Regions from separate parts of the Homo sapiens genome. Here all the other regions are linked to region 3. The links are contacts of gene promoters, found by promoter capture Hi-C in human tissues and cell types (Jung and others, 2019). All regions are on one chromosome and are shown on one strand. Each heading gives the region's core, a stretch centred on a gene start or on the middle of the fragment in contact. The rest is flanking DNA. Distances are from core to core; before and after follow the strand shown. Region 1 overlaps RBPMS (RNA binding protein, mRNA processing factor). Region 2 overlaps RBPMS (RNA binding protein, mRNA processing factor). Region 3 holds the start of RBPMS (RNA binding protein, mRNA processing factor).

The links. The method cuts DNA at HindIII sites, captures the fragments that hold promoters and counts their contacts. A contact is called where the count stands out against the background at its distance.
Region 1: a contact is called between a fragment that was not itself captured here and the fragment with the promoter of RBPMS in region 3, in 1 of the 25 tissues and cell types used here (neural progenitor cells).
Region 2: a contact is called between a fragment that was not itself captured here and the fragment with the promoter of RBPMS in region 3, in 2 of the 25 tissues and cell types used here (bladder and spleen).

Annotation. Positions count from the first base shown.
Region 1 is chr8:30,437,151-30,440,691 of GRCh38, forward strand. The region is part of intron 1 of RBPMS (RNA binding protein, mRNA processing factor); the gene reads left to right. Among named protein-coding and RNA genes, the nearest start is that of RBPMS-AS1, 54 kb to the left of the region's middle. RefSeq lists an enhancer at 545-1,080. The HindIII fragment of the contact is 6,276 bases long and covers 1-3,541 here.
Region 2 is chr8:30,418,567-30,421,630 of GRCh38, forward strand. The region is part of intron 1 of RBPMS (RNA binding protein, mRNA processing factor); the gene reads left to right. It overlaps LOC112268025 (a long non-coding RNA gene), which reads left to right. Exons shown (of 2, transcript XR_002956700.2): 2 at 1-1,309. Among named protein-coding and RNA genes, the nearest start is that of RBPMS-AS1, 35 kb to the left of the region's middle. The HindIII fragment of the contact is 8,156 bases long and covers 1-3,064 here.
Region 3 is chr8:30,383,145-30,386,489 of GRCh38, forward strand. RBPMS (RNA binding protein, mRNA processing factor) reads left to right here and starts at 1,397. Exons shown (of 9, transcript NM_001008710.3): 1 at 1,397-2,014. The coding sequence starts at 1,949. RBPMS-AS1 (RBPMS antisense RNA 1) reads right to left here and starts at 2,257. Exons shown (of 3, transcript NR_046205.1): 1 at 2,000-2,257; 2 at 400-553. RefSeq lists enhancers at 1,184-1,854, 1,855-2,526. The HindIII fragment of the contact is 17,890 bases long and covers 1-3,345 here.

The DNA of each region.
Region 1 (3,541 bases), core at 481-2,980, 54 kb after region 3:
GACCTCATGATCCGCCTGCCTCGGCCTCCCAAAGTGCTGGGATTACAGGCGTGAGCCACCGCGCCCAGCCGATATATGTAGCATTTTGACCTAGATTTGTTGGGATTATAAGTCAAAATGTTAAAATTGATCTTATCAGAGCCTGCCACTTGGAAAAATAACTTTACTTCAGAAAAATTTTGTATTGAACTCTTTGAAGGCTTTTTTAAAAACGATGTTATTGGCTGGGCGTGGTGGCTCATGCCTGTAATCCCAGCACTTTGGGAGGCTGAGGCAACAGGATCATTTGAGGTTAGGAGTTCCAGACCAGCCTGGCCAGTATGGTAAAACTCCATCTCTACTAAAAATGCAAAAATTAGGCTGGGCTTGGTGGCTCATGCCTGTAATCCCAGCACTTCGGGAGGCCGAGGCAGGTGGATCACCTGAGGTCAGGAGTTTAAAACCAGCCTGGCCAACATGGCAAAACCCTGTCGCTACTAAAAATAAAAAAATTAGCCGGGCATGATATTGCTTGCCTGTAATCCCAGCTACTTTGGAGGCTGAAGCAGGAGAATCACTTGAACTCGGGAGATGGAGGTTGCAGTGAGCCCAGATCACGCCACTGCACTCCAGCCTGGGTGACAGAGCGAGACTCCATCTCAAAAAAAAAAAAAAAAAGGTAGCCGAGCGTGGTGGGCACATGCCTGTAATCCCAGCTACTCAGGAGACTGAGACAGGAGAATCACTTGAACCTGGGAGGTGGAGGTTGCAATGGACCAAGATTGTGCTACTGCACTCCAGCCTGGGTGACAGAGTGAGACTCCGTCTCAAAAAAAGAAAAAAAAAAAGTTGTTATTTTTACTTAGGAAATGATTTATCTATTTTGCAAGTTCATCTTAGAGCACAATTATAGCTATTTATTACTTATTATTCATTCCTATCTTCCCCTTTCCTCTGATAAATAACCTGGTAGTTTTTGGTAAAATAAGCTAATCAGCAGGGTTCTCTAAATAATACAGTCTCATGCCTGTAATCCCAACACTTTGGGAGGCCAGGACATGAGGATCACCTATGTAGCCAGGAGTTTGAGACCAGCCCGAGCAACAGAGTGAGCCAATTGCTTGTGTTGGCCTTTTACTTTCCATGTTTTAGGTTAGTCATTACTTTTATCAGGTACAGAGTATAACCAAGTGGATTTTTCCCTTCTGTCCTCCCTGTACAATGAAGGAGACTGACCGTAAGTGGAACCAGGAAGTGTTGACGTGGTCATTACTGCAAGGAAGGAGGAAAAATAGCAGCCAAAAATGCCATTTACGTGAAACTTGTGACTTGATTGAGGAAACATTTGCTCAAGCAAAAGCTTAACTGACTACCTCTAAACTGAGGAATGTAAGAATTACCATATTTACTTCTGCACTAGAATTAAATTCTTTGTGTGATCACTGTCTTTAGCTCTTATTCTAACACACTGGGGCATAATGAGAGAGGCATTTGAATGCAGATATTATATTATTCTACCTTAATAAATGTTTTTCTTTGTCTTTGCAATAATGATATTATTAGATAGGCTTGATGTCCCATGATTTTTGTCATCAAGTTCGCATCGTATCTATATAGAGAGATAGGAAGATGCGATCTTACTTTTTTTTTATTTATTTTTTTTGAAATAGCCTTGCTCTGCCAGCCCCGGCTGGAGTGCAGTGGTGCAATCTCAGCTCACTGTAGCCTCCACCTCCCAGGTTCAAGTTACTCTCATGCCTCAGCCTCCTTAGTAGCTGGGCCTACAGGCGCATGCCACCACACCCGGCTAATTTTTGTATTTTTAGAAATAGAGATGGGGTTTCACCATGCTGTCCAGGCTAGTCTCAAACTCCTGACCTCATGTGATCCACCTGCTTTGGCCTCCCAAAGTACTGAAATTACAAGAAGATGTGACTTATTTTAAATGTTTGTTTGCTGAGGGGGAATATCTGAGTTTACCTTTAAGCGTCAAAAATACTCTGATACTGCAGTACTAGTTGTTATTTTGTTCTTATTTGAGACTAAATTAACAGCTGTAGTCAGTTACTATGCTCAGGAAATAATGTTTGGAGATAAACTTTGTGTGTGCTCTCCGTACATTTCATAGTATCATTTAAAAGCAAACCTCTTTAATCAAAGTCAAAAGGAAAGGATGTGTTTTCTTTCTTCCATGTTTCTTGGCAGATCTTACAGGTGAGTGGGAAGTCATGAATGGGCAATTTCCAAGAAGTACAAAAGTAATTTTGTTCATAAAGCAAAATATTTTCCTTTGATTCATGATTTACAAGGAAACCCATAGCTTAGCACCTACGAGAAACTTTGAATAGGCTGACTTTGCAGTGAGGGTCTCAAAGAAGGAATGCGGTGAGCAAATCTTTTGACATTGTGATGATACATTCTTCTAAAGGTTAGGAGGAAAAACTTCTTTCTTAGAGTTTGGCTCCCCCACACCCCCTCTTGCTTCCCTCTTGCTAATTGCCCGTTTTTTGACTTTTTTTTTTCCTTTTGTTTTGTTTTTGTTTTGAGAAAGGGTCTCCCTCTGTCACCCAGGCTGGAATGCAGTGGCACCATCACTGCTCGCTGCAGCCTTGACCTGGCTCAGGCAGTCCTCCTACCTCAGCTTCCTGAGTAGGTATGAATATAGACATGTACCACTTTGCTCAGCTAATTTTTGTATTTTTTGTAGAGACGGGGTTTCACCATGTTGCCCAGGCTGTGCTTATTTTTTATAATTAAAAAAAAATTAAAGCCAGGTGCAGTGGCTTACGCCTGTAATCCCAGCACTTTGGGAGGCTGAGGCGGGATTACTTGAGGCCAGGAGTTCAAGACCAGCCTGAGCAACATAGTGAGACCTCGTCTCTACAATCAATCAGTCAGTCAGTCAATCAATCAGTCATTCGATCAATCAACTGCAGTAAAGTACACAAAACAAAAGTTTACCATCCTAACCATTTGTTTATTTTATTTTTTGGAGACGGGGTCTCATTCTATTACTAAGGCGGGTGTCAAACTTGTGGCCTCAAGCAATCCTCCTTCCCAATGTGCTAGGATTACGGGTGTGAGCCACTGTGCTGAGCCCTAGCCTTTTTTAAGTGTACAGTTCAGTAGTGTTGAGTATATTCACATTGTTGCTCCACAACTTTTACATCTTGCAAAACAGAAACTCTATACCCATTAAACAACAGCTCGCTGTCCCCACATCCACCCCACCTCTAACCCCTTGGCAACCAGCATTCTTACTCCCTTTTTCTATGGATTTGACTAGTTAGATACATCATGTAAGTAGAATCATTCAGTATTTGTCTGTTACTGGCTTTAAGTCAGCCTAATGTACTCAAAATTCATCCATGTCGTAGCGTGTGCCAGAATTTCCTTCCTTTTTAAGGCTTCCATCGTATTTTTCCATCCTTCTGTCAAATGGATGTTTGGGTTGCTTCCACCACCTGGCTATTGTGAATAATGCTGCAATGAGCACAGGTGTGCAAACGTCTTTTTGAGATACTGCTTTTGTTCTCACTGGGTCTACTACTACTGGGTAATT
Region 2 (3,064 bases), core at 552-3,051, 36 kb after region 3:
TCTTTATTACTATTATTATTATTATTTTTCGAGGCAGGGTCTCACTCTGTCACCCAGGCTGGAGTGCAGTGGCGTGATCTTGTCTCACTGCAACCTCCGTCTCCTGGGTTCAAGCGATTTTCTTGCCTCAGCCTCCTGAATAGCTGGGGCTACAGGCATGTGCCACCAGGCCTGTCTAATTTTTGTATTTCTAGTAGAGACTGGGTTTTACCATGTTGGCCAAGCTGGTCTCAAACTCCTGACCTCAAGTGATCCATCCGCCTCAGCCTCCCAAAATGCTCGGCCTCCCAAATCTGTTTTAGTGGTACAGGTACTCATGCACATGAGTACCGCTCCTGGCCTTGGCACTCTTTATACGTTGTAAACATTGATTGTTTTTGTCTTTAATATATTTTAGAAATATTTTCCCTAGTCTTTTTGCTTGTCCTTTTAAAGATAGGCCCCTGTTATCATTTGCTGTAAATGTCATCATCTGCATAGAAAATCCAAGATTATCAGTTGAAAAAAAAAAAAAAACAGAACTAATAAACTTCAGTAAGATGTCCAGATGAGAAAAACACAAAAATCACAGGGTTTTAATTTTATTTTTAAAAATATGGCTGGGCGCAATGGCTCAGGCCTATAATCCTAGCACTTTGGGAAGCTGTGGTGGGTGGATTACCTGAGGTTGGGTGTTCAAGACCAGCCTGGCCAACATGGCGAAACCCCATCTCTATTAAAAATACAAAAATTATCCGGGCATGGTGGTGCACGTCTGTAGTTTCAGCTGCTCAGGAGGCTGAGGCAGGAGAATCGCTTGAAACTGGGAGGCAGAGGTAGCAGTGAGCCAAGATCATGCCATTGCACTCCAGCCTGGGCGACAGAGTGAGATTGCATCTCAAAAATGTGTGTGTGTGTGTGTGTGTGTGTGTGTGTGTCAGCATAGGAAAGTAGTACAGGTAGAGAGCATTTCTAATCTCAAAATGCCCCACAATCTGAAGCTTTTTGAGCACTGACGTACCACAAGTGGAAAATTCCACACTTGACCTCATGTGACAGGTTTCAGTCAAAACTTGGTTTTCATGCACATGAGTATTAAAAATGTTTTATAAAACTACCTTCAGGCTATGTTTATAAGGTGTATATGAAGCGAATGAATTTTGTGTTTAGACTTGGTTCCCATCCCCAACATATCTCATTATTTTTAAAATATGGAAATATTCCAAAATCTGAAACACATCTGGTCCCAGTCATTTCACATAAGGGATTCTCACCCTGTACTAATCAATTAGAACACATAATAAAAAACAGATACCATTCTTGACAGCAATGAAAAACAAATTTGCAAGAACAGCTTGAAGAATACTGCATTCTGAAGGACAGAAAAGACCTGAATAGGTCTGGTGCAGTGGCTCATGTGTGTAATCCCAGCACTTTGAGAGGACGACATGCATGGATTGCTTGAGCCCAGGAGCTCGAGACCAGCCTGGGCAACATGGCAAGACCTTGTCTCAACAAAAGAAACCCAAAGAATTAACTGGACATGGTGATGTGTGCCCGTAGTCCCAGTTACTCTGGAGGCTTAGGTGGGAGGATCACTTGAGCTTGGGAGGTTGAGGCTGCAGTGGGCCGTGATCACACCACTGCACTTCATTCTGGGTGATAGAGCAAGACCCTGCTTCAAAAAAAAAAAAAGAAAGAAAATACCAAGTAAATGGAGATACAGATTGTATTTCTGTGGATAGATATTGTAAAGTCTCTTTTCTCCAAATTAAACATTAAATGAAATTCTGATAAAAATTCCCAAGTACTTTAAACAGAATTTGACAAGCTAATCTATAAGTCAGCTGGACTTATAAACATACATAAAGCCAAGAAAATTTGGAAAAGAACTCGGGGGGACTTTCCACACCGGATATCAAAACCCATTTTGAAATATTGTAGTTAAAAGAGACAAATCACCAAATGAAACTGAAGTCCACAGAGGTAAAGTTACTAGTTTAAGGTCACAGAGCTAGATGGGCATTTTTCATGCGGGTCAGTTGAAGTGTTTCTCAGTGGCTGGACTGATTGCATGTGATTCTAACTTTCAGCAATGTTGTAGACTTTATCGGGAGGCTTCTTCATTTCCCAATTAGAAAGATACTATCTTTTGGGAAAATTACTTATGCAGGGAATCAACCTATTAGACATTTGCCGAACTTGAATAAAATGAGAAAAGGAAAATCTGTCAAGCCTTCGTGTTTCATGTTGTAGTGTTTTCCCTGTAAATGCTTCCTCTATTGTAGCAGAGTAGTTCAGAGTTGAAGGGTCATCAGGGCAGAAGATGAAGAGAGTCCGGGGTCTATCTAGGAACAGTAGTTAGGAATGGTTTAGAAACTTTCAGTCAATTGACAGGCTAGTTAGTATTTTAGTGACATTATCAGTTAAAAGTTTAAAATACTTACCTATTTGAAGTCATGAAAATGGCTAATTTTGATTTATTTTCATCCCATGCTTTAAATTTATTTGTGCTGAATTGTGAAGATGATGAGCTTAAAAGTACAGGTTAGAGATTTAGAATTTGTATGTAATTACTCTTGTGAAAATTTGTTTTCTTAGGGAGGTGTGTGTGTGTGTGAGAGAGAGTGTGTGTGTGTGAGTGTGCGCATGAGCTGGTCAGCTGCAGAACCTTCTGGTTAGCAAACCTGATAGCATCTAGGGTGGAGCTAAGGGGGAAACATGTTTAATCACATACTCACCAGCTTCCTGGCACTAAGAAATTATCACCAGACAGCAGCCACCAGGATAATTTAACTTTAGTTCTGGACAGGCAAATGTGCAGCAATCATTTAAAGTAAATTTCTTAAAGAACATGTAGGAATTATGTCACTACTTTGTGGTGATGTTTCCATAAATCCTCTATAGTGTTTTTGTTATGTTTGTGTTTCTTATTAAAAATTCCTTAAGTACAAACATCATTTTCAAATATCATATTTAGTATTCCTACATTTGAAAGCCAAACATGACAAATTATTTTTTACAAATTTTCTAGGTACCTACTATGTGCCAAGGATAATGTCATATCCTCACATGTTTTATGGGT
Region 3 (3,345 bases), core at 147-2,646:
AGCAGGCTGGGATGGAGAATTCCTGGGAGGAAGAAGTGGGGCAGAACCCACTGATATATGGAGTTCCACATTTATACCTTTGTAGCAGTCAAATCTAAGAGTTTAACACGGTGGCTCCACGTTGTAATCCCATCAGTTTGGGAGGCCAAAAGCAGGAGGATCACTTGAGGCCAGGAGCTCGAGCTCAGCCTGAGCAACAAAGTGAGACCCTCATTTTTCTAAAAAAAAAAAAAACCAAAAAACCATAAGCTTAAATGATCGAGTATTGGAAACGCTTTCTAAGGCCCTGGAAAAATAGAAGTTTTCTTAATAATAATGTTAGCTTCCATGTATTGTAAACCTAAACGAAGCAAGAATAAATGCTGGGTGCTGTATATAGCTCTATCAACCTATAATCACCTCGAAAACTCGAGGAGACACATTCAGCTGCTCCCATTTCACGGATGAGGAAACAAGTACGCAATCCTGAAGCTGGTGCAAAGCCCAGGCCCCCTTTCTTTTTCAAGCGTGCTTCCAGCCTCTGAAGTTCCTCCGTACGGACCCCCAGCTCTGCCTGCAATAAGGAATATTCACTTTGCCAACAAATATTTATTGAGTGCCTGCTATATACCCCTTAGCCCGTTTAAATAGCCGTGGGATTAAAAAGATAAATAGGGCAGGATTTTTTTTTTTCTTCCAGGAAGGAGCTTTCTGAAGGGTGAGGGAGAGGCCAGGTAAACAATCCCAGAACAGTCTGGTGAGAGTTGGGAGAGGAGTCGGGGGGCCGCGGGACGCTCAGGAAGCGAAGCGGGGAAGGCTCCGGGCGCGTCGCAGGACCCGCGCTGGAGATGGGTTTGAAGCCCTGTCCTGAAAAAGCCGGCCCGGAGTGGGCTGTCCCCGGTGTCCCTCGAGTTCTCATGCTGTCATTCAAGCAGCAGAGGAAGAACCGGGTCTGGCTCGGGAAGGGTGGGCTTAGGGCCAGGGGTGCAAATCCCTCGGTAAAAGCCGGCAAACTAAAAGTCGCACACATCCCAGGTCCCGGTCCAGGCCCCGGCGGGGCAGGGTCCCCGAAGTCCCGGGGCGCGCAGACGCCGGGGCCCCCGGGGGCCAAGGGAACGGCGGGACCCGACCTCCCTGCCCTCGGCCTCCCGGGCCCTCGCCCTCCGACCAGCCGCTGAGTCGGGGGCTGGGGTCGCCGCTTCCGCCCGCGGCCCGCTGCCCCTCCCCGGCGCGCGCCATCCGGCCGCCGGCCCCTCCTCCCGCGGGGGGCTCCGTCCCGCGCCCCGTCCCTCCGGGCTGCAGCCGGCAGCCCACGTCCAGGGAGGGCGGAGGGAGGAGGAGAGGCGCGGAGAGGAGGGAGGGGAGAGGGGAGGGAGGAAGGCGAGAGAAAGGGAGCTGCTTCCATCCCGGACTTCCCAGAGCCTGCCTGGAGCGCGTACTCAGCGGCTCTCGGGTCCCAGCGTCCCAGCCGCGGCCCGCGCTCCTCCGCCCCGCTCCTCCTCCTCCTCTTCCTCCTCCTCCTCCTCTCTAGGCACCCCCGTCCCCTCCTTCCAGCGGCTGCAGCCCCCAGCCCCAACTCTCCGCGCTTACTCCTGGGACGCGCGTCCTCGCCCCATCCTTTGCTTCCTTCCTTCCTTCCTTCTTCCTTCCTCCCCTGGCTCCCGCCCTCCCTCTCCAGGTCGCCCTCCCGGGGCCCGATTGTCTCGGTGCCCCGCTCCCGGCCCGCGCCCTGCCCCGTCTCTCCCTTGCACTTCCTGAGTCGCCCGCCGCCGCCGTCGCAGACTCGCCGCGGGAGCCCCAGCCCAACCCGAGCCCGACAGCCACTGCCCCGGCTCCAGCTCCAGCCCCACAGCCCGCGGCGCCCGCCCGAGGGAGCCCCGGCGCCCGGGGAAGGCTCCAGTGGGCTAGCGCGCCCTCGCCCAGCCCCGCGCCCCAGCCCTGCCCGGCCCGGCGAGGAAGGACCGGGAAGATGAACAACGGCGGCAAAGCCGAGAAGGAGAACACCCCGAGCGAGGCCAACCTTCAGGAGGAGGAGGTACTGGGCGGCTCGGTGTGGTGGCGGGGGCGACGCGGGACCCAGTGCGGGCGGCCGGCGGGGCGCGGGCCCGGGGCGCGGCGGTGGAAGAAGGTTCAGGCATGGCCCGTGCCCCGGACGCAGCCCCACAGTGTGGCCCGGGGAGGGTGGATCTCGGGAGCGTGTGTTTTTGTGTCCACGCGCGTCTGCGGGCCCCAAATTGCGTAACTCCAAGGACTTTTCGGAGACTTTTGTAAGTATAATGCTCAGCTTTGTTTGCCCGGGATTTATAAGTGGAACCGAGAGCTGACTCCTGGGTGACCTCAGATAATCGGGACTCGGAGGGTCAGGACTTAGGGCCGGGGCTGGAAATTGTGTATGGATTCAGGGTCGGGGGGGGAGCAGTTTAAGGAAGAAACTCGGGGGAAAGTTCTCGTTAAAAGATACCTCTATTCCCTGCCCCCTCCCTTTCCGTGTTAAAAGTTCTTGGTGAAATATCTTTCTAGCCGAGGTTTTTTGGATTAATAGATAACTCATCAGCCACATTCTTCTCTGCTGAGTCAAAGACCCCGAGCCTGGGCGGTGAACGCTTGTGATTTTAGGGGCCGTGCAGCTGAGGGGAGCAGAGTAAGAGGGTTAAAAACGCAGCAATTCACCAAATGCTCATCGAGGGTATTTTCATAGGACTTTGACTTCTGAGCATGCATTTTAGGTGGTGCGTCCGTAATCATGATGAAAGTTTTGTGACTGCGGAGCGTTCCTTCGGTGGAAACAAAATTGAGTAGATGTGGTCAGAAGGGGAGTCGGACTCAGGAACAAACGTTTCAGAATTCAGTAGGATATTTGTGGTATCCTACCAAATGACTCTTTTTGCAGGTACGTTATCTGGAGTCCAAGAAATTATTTCTGGCGTACTTCTTAACATCCCACACAGTTGAGTTCTTAAACATTCTAGAGGAACTTGAGAGTGTGTGTAGATGCAGGAAAGTGCACGTCTAAATATGACCCGAAAAGATTCACACAGGTATTGGATCCTGATATAGGTGAACACAGAAGGTAAACGGATTCTAAAGCGTTAGAATGTTGAGATCATTGTTGAGACACTATGTTGTGTGCAAACTTCAATTCTGATAGTGAAACCAAAATTGCAGAGGAATTCATTAATACATACAACTTCTCTGCACATTGTCCACTTGGAAAATGGTAACTATTTAGATGGAGAAGGTAGAGGAGCGAGACTATGCCAAACAATGCAAAATAAATAGGAGATTTTACTCGTCACCCAGTTGTATGGTAGTGAAAACCTAAATGAATTGCAGTCAGCCAAAAATTGCTTTTTCACCCGAGGACAT